3 separate regions of the Homo sapiens genome follow, and regions 1 and 2 are each linked to region 3. Evidence: promoter capture Hi-C in 16 types of primary human blood cells and fetal thymus (Javierre and others, 2016). All regions are on one chromosome and are shown on one strand. The core of a region is centred on a gene start or on the middle of the fragment in contact, and the rest is flanking DNA. Distances in the headings are between cores, read along the strand shown. Region 1 overlaps GPR176 (G protein-coupled receptor 176). Region 2 has its middle 8.9 kb from the start of BAHD1. Region 3 holds the start of BMF (Bcl2 modifying factor).

Region 1 (2,899 bases), core at 62-2,561, 310 kb after region 3:
CTTCATACTGGTTCTTCTGCCCTGAACAACTTTAATTGTTAATGATATCTGGACTGTGGCATAAGTCTGCTTTAGATATGTGTGTAGACAAACTTATTTCTGTTGGTAGCTTTGAAAATTGCCCTAAAGCTTCTTTAGCCCATATAAAATTGTTTACCAATTACCCTTTACCCTCAAATTGAAAAGTAGATATCTTTATAGCAGATGGAGAAATCTTTTATATGGAGGGTACTGTTTGCGATTTCATCCTGGTAGCAATAATTATAAAGCTAGCTATGAATTGAAATTATTTACTTGTTTTCCTGTAAAGCCTCATGAGGACAGGTTTGCTGCTCCTTTGGAAAGGTTTTTATTTTTTGGTCTAGTGACGCTTCTTATTGTACTTGCAAAGTCCTCAAAACTTAGGTCTGGCTTCCTGGATTCCCCCAGTGCTTTTCTGTCTTAGGCCGAATAGAAGAACTTGACCTTTCTTCCCTCTCATCTACTTTTGGTGATTTAGGTTCCCCTAATTTAAAAAGTATCTTCTGTGGAATTAATTTTGTTTGTGTATCTTGCAGGTACTACTCAGTCCTCTATCCACTGGAGAGGAAAATATCTGATGCCAAGTCCCGTGAACTGGTGATGTACATCTGGGCCCATGCAGTGGTGGCCAGTGTCCCTGTGTTTGCAGTAACCAATGTGGCTGACATCTATGCCACGTCCACCTGCACGGAAGTCTGGAGCAACTCCTTGGGCCACCTGGTGTACGTTCTGGTGTATAACATCACCACGGTCATTGTGCCTGTGGTGGTGGTGTTCCTCTTCTTGATACTGATCCGACGGGCCCTGAGTGCCAGCCAGAAGAAGAAGGTCATCATAGCAGCGCTCCGGACCCCACAGAACACCATCTCTATTCCCTATGCCTCCCAGCGGGAGGCCGAGCTGCACGCCACCCTGCTCTCCATGGTGATGGTCTTCATCTTGTGTAGCGTGCCCTATGCCACCCTGGTCGTCTACCAGACTGTGCTCAATGTCCCTGACACTTCCGTCTTCTTGCTGCTCACTGCTGTTTGGCTGCCCAAAGTCTCCCTGCTGGCAAACCCTGTTCTCTTTCTTACTGTGAACAAATCTGTCCGCAAGTGCTTGATAGGGACCCTGGTGCAACTACACCACCGGTACAGTCGCCGTAATGTGGTCAGTACAGGGAGTGGCATGGCTGAGGCCAGCCTGGAACCCAGCATACGCTCGGGTAGCCAGCTCCTGGAGATGTTCCACATTGGGCAGCAGCAGATCTTTAAGCCCACAGAGGATGAGGAAGAGAGTGAGGCCAAGTACATTGGCTCAGCTGACTTCCAGGCCAAGGAGATATTTAGCACCTGCCTGGAGGGAGAGCAGGGGCCACAGTTTGCGCCCTCTGCCCCACCCCTGAGCACAGTGGACTCTGTATCCCAGGTGGCACCGGCAGCCCCTGTGGAACCTGAAACATTCCCTGATAAGTATTCCCTGCAGTTTGGCTTTGGGCCTTTTGAGTTGCCTCCTCAGTGGCTCTCAGAGACCCGAAACAGCAAGAAGCGGCTGCTTCCCCCCTTGGGCAACACCCCAGAAGAGCTGATCCAGACAAAGGTGCCCAAGGTAGGCAGGGTGGAGCGGAAGATGAGCAGAAACAATAAAGTGAGCATTTTTCCAAAGGTGGATTCCTAGCAAGGATTGTAAATTCTTGGAAGCAACGGGGAGCTTCCATATTCCCACCAGAGTGTGGGAATGCTGTGGCCATGTGATTGTATGATCTCCTTGCAACTCAGTGTGAGTTGATTCCTCCAATATGGGCCAGATGCTTTTGAATGATAGGGAAATCTACATAAAATCCAGTGTCCTCTTTATTGAGGGAGTATATGTATCCATCTCAGTGATCCATGTCCTTAGTGAAGTCCACATTATTCTCTGTGGGGACAAGAGCTGGGCAGTTTTGAATGGGTCTTGAGGTGGGTACCCCATGTGCACTTTCTGAGGATGCCTCACTTCCCTGGGCTCTGCAGAGAACACACAGAGAGAAGACTTTCAGAGCTCACAGGAGCAGGGAGCAGGAGCACTCTAAGGGAATTCCAAGATCATGATGGAGCATGGTGGCTCCAGAGAAAATGCCTGTTTGATGAACTTAAACATGTCAAACATTTTCTGTTGAGAAGGTAGGGATTTGGTGTCTTACACTGTTTCTCTGGAAGCCCCAGTCATATGACTCACTGTTTCTCCTGATACCCTTCGTCCCTTTCATTGGGATGTAGGTAAGGAATGACGATTCCTCACCTATGGTACACATGGCGATAGATGTGCCCGGGAGTAAGGGAGATATTTTGTCCTTGATAATTCTGATTTTCCCTTGGCATCACCAACGCCTCAGAGAGATACACCTGCACCCTCCAGTCAGGGTCAGTGTTGGCTGGAAAACACTGAAAAGTCTTCGCTCTGTCTTTCACCTTAAATTGTGTTTTCTCAACAAATGAGAGAGAAGCTTACGGGGGAGATGCCTGAGAGATGCCTATGGCGCTGTAGTTTTTTTTTCTTCCCTATGATCTCACATGAAAGGTGCTATGTAACAACCAGTATGAGTCAAATATATTGAAAAAATCATCTTATGCAAACTTTAGGAATTAAAAGGTATTTTTAAAATGGAGAGTTAGTGTAAGCTGGGTCCTTTGGAAACATCAAACTGAAAAGGCCTGATTTGGAAAGGTGACTCTGCCCAAAAGGTTGGCAAGAATCTGACAAAGATGGTTTCCTTCCGAGGAAGACTCCGGAACTCAGGTGTGGCCAGTCTCCTTTTCAGTCTGTTTGTACAGCTGCGGTTCTCTCTTAATTTTGGACACAGAGGAGGAACAGAACAGGGAGAAATAATCATTGTAGAGTGCCAAGGCAACATCTG
Region 2 (2,930 bases), core at 193-2,692, 320 kb before region 3:
TCCCAGTGCTGTGGACTGGAAGACCAGGGGTGCATCCACTATGTTGGTTCCTTTATTCCAGACGTACAGACCCCTGGGAAGATGAAGAAATCCAGATCTGGAATGGGCAGTGTATTGAGAGCCTCCAAAGCCGGCAGGAGGTCCAGAGGGGGCAGGTGTCTCTTACAGAAGGCATGAACAGGCACTCAACATACGTTTCTTTATTTAACCCTCAAGAACTCTGGTAGGTAAATGTACTCTCAAATTTACAAACAAATGAGGAAACTGAGACCTGGAGAATCTAAGTAACTGCCCAAGATCACATAGGCTTGGAGTGGCTCCAAAACCTTTGCTTTTTTTTTCATACGGCATTTAACATATAAAATAGAGGTCTAACCCTTTATATGTCTAAAAGCTTTCTTCTTTCTACATTTCACATAGCGTAGTGGTTAAGAATGCAGACTTTCTGAGTACAGTCCTGGCGCTACAGTGTCTTAAAACATATAAAGTACTTAGAATAGTACCTGATGTAGCCACAAGTGCCCCCAGAACATTAGCAATTGTGAATCTATTTCATCATGCCCAAATCTGGCCATGCCTGAAGCCTGCCCTGCTTCCATACTGGAATCAGTCTTCCACCTCTGTTTTGTACTCCTTGTCTCCCATCTGGAGCTCTGACAATGTAGTGCCTGTGGCTGTATTCTGTCCACCCAGCAGTGGGCCCCACTCTGGCTTCAGTCAGGCAGGATGGCTCCCTTTGCTGGGTTTGGAGGAGAGGCCAGCCCCTCTTCCCATGGCTTCTCCATTCCATCCTCCCAAGGCCAGGGCCCTAGCCATTTCCCTCTTCGGGAAAGATTCTCTGTGGCATCCCTAAGCACATTCCTCAAGGTGAGGTAGTTCCATCTCCTACAGGCTCTCAGCCACAGCCACTGACCTCTCTAGTCTTGCAAAACCCAGAGCAGAGGAGAGAATCACCTGTGGTTCTTTTGCCATCTTCACTTAACCTCAGTGAACCCACAGCAAGAGCCAGGACCAGCCCTTTCCAGCAGACACCCTCTGGGGGGACTACAGTCTGGGCCACAAGTATGGTGTTAACCAACCATGGTGCCACCTGTGCTCTGCACTGTGCAGGCACCAAGAAGACTTGGGAGGCCATGCAGACAGCATTGCTTCTGACCTAGGAAAGCTACTCCACCCAGCAGAGGCGTGATCCTCAGAAACTGAAGAGCACATCAAAGAGTGTATGACCTAAGCAAGACTGGGCCAGATGATTAGTAACTGGAAAAGTGACATCAAGACTTAGATATGATAGGCCAGGCGCAGTGGCTCACACCTGTAATTCCAGCACTTTGGGGGGCCGAGGTGGGCGGATCACTTGAGGCCAGGAGTTCAAGACCAGTCTGGCCAATGTGGCAAAACCCTGTCTCTACAGGTGTGGTGACACGCATCTGTAGTTCCAGCTACTCAGGAGGCTGAGGCATAAGAATCGCTTGAACCTGGGGGGTGGAGATTGCAGTGAGCCAAGATGGAACTATTGCACTCCAACCTGGGTGATGGAGTGAGAATCTATCTCAAAAAAAAAAAAAAAAGACTTAGATATGAGAGGCCTGACAATTTTTCCCCTTGATTTGTGAATATTATACTATATTTAAAAATCTAATAAGGGCATTTATAAAAATTACACTTAGTTATATAGACAACAACTCTTCTTTGTTGAAAGGGATTATGGGAAATCAGCAATTGCCTTTTTCATTGCTTCCCTCTGTCAGGGTGTATTCTGTGATAGGTAATGTTCCTGGAGAGATTCCATGAGTTAGGCACTGTGTTAAGCTCTTTACACATAATCTTTTTTTTTTTTTTGAGATGGAGTCTTGCTCTGTAGCCCAGGCTGGAGTGCAGTGGCGTGATCTCAGCTCACTGCAAGCTCTGCCTTCCAAGTTCACACCATTCTCCTGCCTCAGCCTCCCGAGTAGCTGGGACTACAGGCGCCCGCCACTGTGCCCAGCTAATTTTTTGTATTTTTAGTAGAGACGGGGTTTCACCATGTTAGCCAGGCTGGTCTCGGTCTCCTGACCTCGTGATCTGCCTGCCTCGGCCTCCCAAAGTGCTGGGATTACAGGCGTGAGCCACTGCGCCCGGCCTACACATACTCTTAATCCCCAGCCAGTCTTATGAAATAGATAGTGTTATTATTCTCATTTTACTAATGAGAAAACTGAGGCATAGAGAGGTTCGGTAACTTCCCAGGGTCACATTAATAATAGTGGAGCCGGCTGGGCACGGTGGCTCACACCTGTAATCCCAGGTCTCAGGGAGGCAGAGGTGGGAGGATAGCTTGAGCCCAGGAGTTCGAGACCTGTCTGGGCAATAAAGCGAGACCCCGTTCTCCACAAAAAGGAAGAAAAAAAAAGACAAAAAAAAAAAAAGCGTAATAATAGTGGAGCCAGGGTTTACATCCCAGCCTTGTCACTTTTAATGATTTCTCCATCACTTCTTCCTAAATAAGCTTCCCCAAACAATTCTCTACTCTTATGTTTTCCAAATGTCTGTTAGCAACTCATTCAAATTTTACACATGAAGTTGCTGTGAGCAACATTCATCTCACTGTTAGATTGGGGGCAAAATGTTGCAAGTCGATTGTCATATTTCTTTATAAAAAGATATTCCTTTGGCAAAGCCGTTATCAAAAGTACCCTTTCCCTGCCTTCTGCACTCTCTTTGACACTGAAACATCAATATGGTCTTTCAAGAACATCAGATACACTTCAGCCAACTTCCAACTACAAGCAAACTCAGTGTTCTCCCAATGTTTCCACTGTGGGGTGCACTGGCAGTTTTAAGAGTCAAGAACCTTGGACTCATCCTTGGCACCTCCCTCTCCCTCCCAAGCCGCCACCCATAGCTAATCCATCACCACAGCCTGTCATTTACTGGAGTCTCCAGCCTCGAAT
Region 3 (2,870 bases), core at 105-2,604:
GCTCTCCAGCTCAGCACTTCAGTCTGCTACCCTTAGGCCTGGGCTATTCTTTTTTATTTTATTTTATTTTTATTTTTTTGAGACGGAGTCTCATTGTCGCCCAGGCTGGAGTGCGGTGGCGCTATCTCCGCCCACTGCAACCTTCACCTCCTAGGTTCAAGCAATTCTCCTACCTCAGCCTCCCAAGTAGCTGGGATTACAGGCATGCGCCACCACGCCCGCCTGATTTTTGTATTTTTAGTAGAGACAGGGTTTCCCGTGTTGGCCAGGCTGGTCTCCAACCACTGAGCTCAAGTGAACCACCCGCCTCGGCCTCCCAAAGTGTTGGGATTACAGGCGTGAGACATGTGCATCTGGTTTTCCTTATTGAAAAATATTTCCCATTCAATTTAAAAGCTGTCTCCCTGAGGCCTTCTCCAGCCTTTGTATTCTGAATTTTTCTGCATTCCTCAATAGTCATTATCCTTGGAATGAATACAATTCCAATAACTTTTCACTATTTTCAGGGCTACCTCTCCTAGTAGACTGTAAGCTCCTTGAGGGCAGACGCCAGGTTTCTGGCACTCAGCCCAATATCTGGCACAGAGTAGGTGCTCGGTAAATGCCTGTGAAGTAGCCCATAGACTCCCTTACGCGGTCTGCAGGACATGCTGCTCTCCTGGCAGCACCAGCACAGTCTCTAAATGCTGCCATATGCGAGATATGTGTCAACCGCTCAAGCAGCCCCGGCCTTCTTGAGCGCTCCGCTTCTCAGCCAGGTGCTTATTTTGCCAGTGCCCACGCCCAGTCAAGAAGAGGACCTAAGGGCTCCCCTGGATGTGTTTGTTTCAAACACACCTTCAGCTTTGGAGCTGCAGTTTTCTTCCGACCTGCTCGGCAGGCGGGAGGGAGCTTTCCCCTGAGGCTGGGATCCCATAGGGACCCGCACCCTGCACCCTGCACCCACTGGACGCACCAGCCTCATAAAAAAACTCCCCGCCTCCTTCCCCCCTCCCTTTGTGGACGCGCAGCAATTATTCTGCCCATTGCCGTGAAAAAGAAGACAAAAGTTACTTTGGCGCCCCCTCTCCCACACCTAATACAGAGGATTCAGGGACTCTCTGGCGCTTCCAGAGCCTGTGTTAGGGACAGAATCCGCACTGGCGACGGCGCTCCGACTGCGCTTCTGGCGACGGTCGGAATTTTGCTCGGCCCCTTGCAATGTTTCCATGGGAAGGTTCGTACATTCGTGACCGTCCCTGGCAGCGGCCCAGCCCGGGACTTGGCGCTTCACTCGCCATTGGTCAGTCCTCGGCGTGACGCGCAGGGGGGCGGGGCCTCATCAGCTGTTTGCGGGATGCCCCGAGCAGGCGTATTTTGGAAACAATACCGCACCGTGCGGAGTGGCCTCCTCCCGCCCCGGCCTGTGCCCGCCGCCGCCGCCGCCCCTGCCTGCGCCTCCCGCCTCCTGCCGCAGCCCGGTGAGCGCCCGGGTGGCCGCCGGGGGCCGGGCGGAGTTGGATCGCAGCTCCTTGGGGAAGTGGGGAGCGGAGTCGCGCTGCGCACGGGGGCCCGGGAAGGGTTTGGGCTGCGGACGTCTGGGGTGACCATGAAGAACTGGGGCGCTGGGGTGAGGGAACGGGGTGCAGAACCCACAGTTGGGTGCGCTGCTCCAAGAGGGAACTTGGGGGTAGCATTTGGGACTCGAAGGAGTTGGGTCCAGGTAGGCAGGGGAACCTGGGGTGCACTGCTGAGCAGACCTGGGCGCCCGAGAACGGCCCAGCCTCTGGGTCTGACTTTGGGATAGGACAGGAGCTGTGGGGCATCCTGCCTCTCTGCGGAGTCTGAAGGCTCCTCTCCTTAACAGCTGGGCTTTTTCCCTCCTTCCCAATCGAGTCTGGGCGTCCAGCCCCCGAGTGCTCGTCACGCTGGACCCTGGCGCGGAGCCCTGGCATCACGACTCGGAGGCCGAGACTCTCTCCTGGAGTCACCCAGGTCTGGGGTGTGTGTGTGTGTGTGTGTGTGTGTGTGTGTTCCTAGTCACTGTCGAGGATCTGGGTGTCTGACTACTGCCTTCTCCTAAGAGGAGGAGGAGTCTAAGTTCAGCATCCCTCTTCCAGCCCTTAGGGGTTGGGATGGCTGCAGCGGGGCTTGAGTTCCTTTGCTAGGAATAAAGCATTCCCTGGCCCTGTTCTCAGGAAGTGCCCTCCTCCTCCCACCGCTCTGGACATCACCTCTTAAGCTCAGGAGAAAAATTTCACCCTCTCTTAGTTTACCCTTGACCTTGGCCAGCACCCCTCCAGAGGCGCCCACCTACAGGCAAGCCACCTACAGTTTGTGGAGCGTGAGAGGGGTCCCTGGGGCTTGCAGAGCCACACCTTCTGGCTGCACCTCCCCCACTGTCCAGTCCAGGCAAAGGTTGAACTTTGGGGCTTTGCTGGGAGGGGGAGGGGAAGGTGATAGGCTTCAAAGGAAAAACCAAGACAATGACTCGTGCTGGTGATTGGCTTTGAGGGCCCCTTCTTAGGTCAAGATTGCTAGCCTGAGAAGAGGAGGTTGGAGAGCTGGAGGGGAGCCCCTGCCAGGTGACTGGCGGGACAGCACTTGGTCCTTTCATCAGGAAATTTTGTTTCCTGTTGTTAATAAGCTGGAGTGCACCACCTCACCCCCCTCCCCATACACACACACACACACACACACACACACACACACACACACACTTGGGAAACACGGTCCAAAGAACACCACGTGGCTGCTTGCCATCCTAGCAGGCATCTCCTCATTCTCCAGGGAAGAGGGCACAGACAGGACCATAGACAGCTCAGGGACAGGGATGGGATGGGACGAAGGCAGGGCCCAAGCAAGCAGCTCACAGCTTGTGTTTGGCAAAG

Evidence for each region. Contacts are between HindIII fragments. The CHiCAGO score rates a contact against its expected background, and 5 or more counts as called.
Region 1: a fragment that was not itself captured here is called in contact with the fragment with the promoter of BMF in region 3 in 3 of 17 cell types (erythroblasts, naive B cells and total B cells); the score reaches 6.0 in erythroblasts.
Region 2: a fragment that was not itself captured here is called in contact with the fragment with the promoter of BMF in region 3 in 1 of 17 cell types (naive B cells); the score reaches 6.3 in naive B cells.

The regions. Positions count from the first base shown.
Region 1 is chr15:39,799,913-39,802,811 of GRCh38, reverse strand. It overlaps GPR176 (G protein-coupled receptor 176), which reads left to right. Exons shown (of 3, transcript NM_007223.3): 3 at 558-2,899. The coding sequence ends at 1,680. Among named protein-coding and RNA genes, the nearest start is that of FSIP1, 19 kb to the right of the region's middle. The HindIII fragment of the contact is 2,359 bases long and covers 132-2,490 here.
Region 2 is chr15:40,430,604-40,433,533 of GRCh38, reverse strand. It overlaps a transcript of IVD not described here. Among named protein-coding and RNA genes, the nearest start is that of BAHD1, 8.9 kb to the left of the region's middle. The HindIII fragment of the contact is 2,091 bases long and covers 397-2,487 here.
Region 3 is chr15:40,107,363-40,110,232 of GRCh38, reverse strand. BMF (Bcl2 modifying factor) reads left to right here and starts at 1,354. Exons shown (of 5, transcript NM_001003940.2): 1 at 1,354-1,460; 2 at 1,847-1,974. RefSeq lists a silencer at 1,297-1,546 and an enhancer at 2,056-2,751. The HindIII fragment of the contact is 6,207 bases long and covers 1-2,870 here.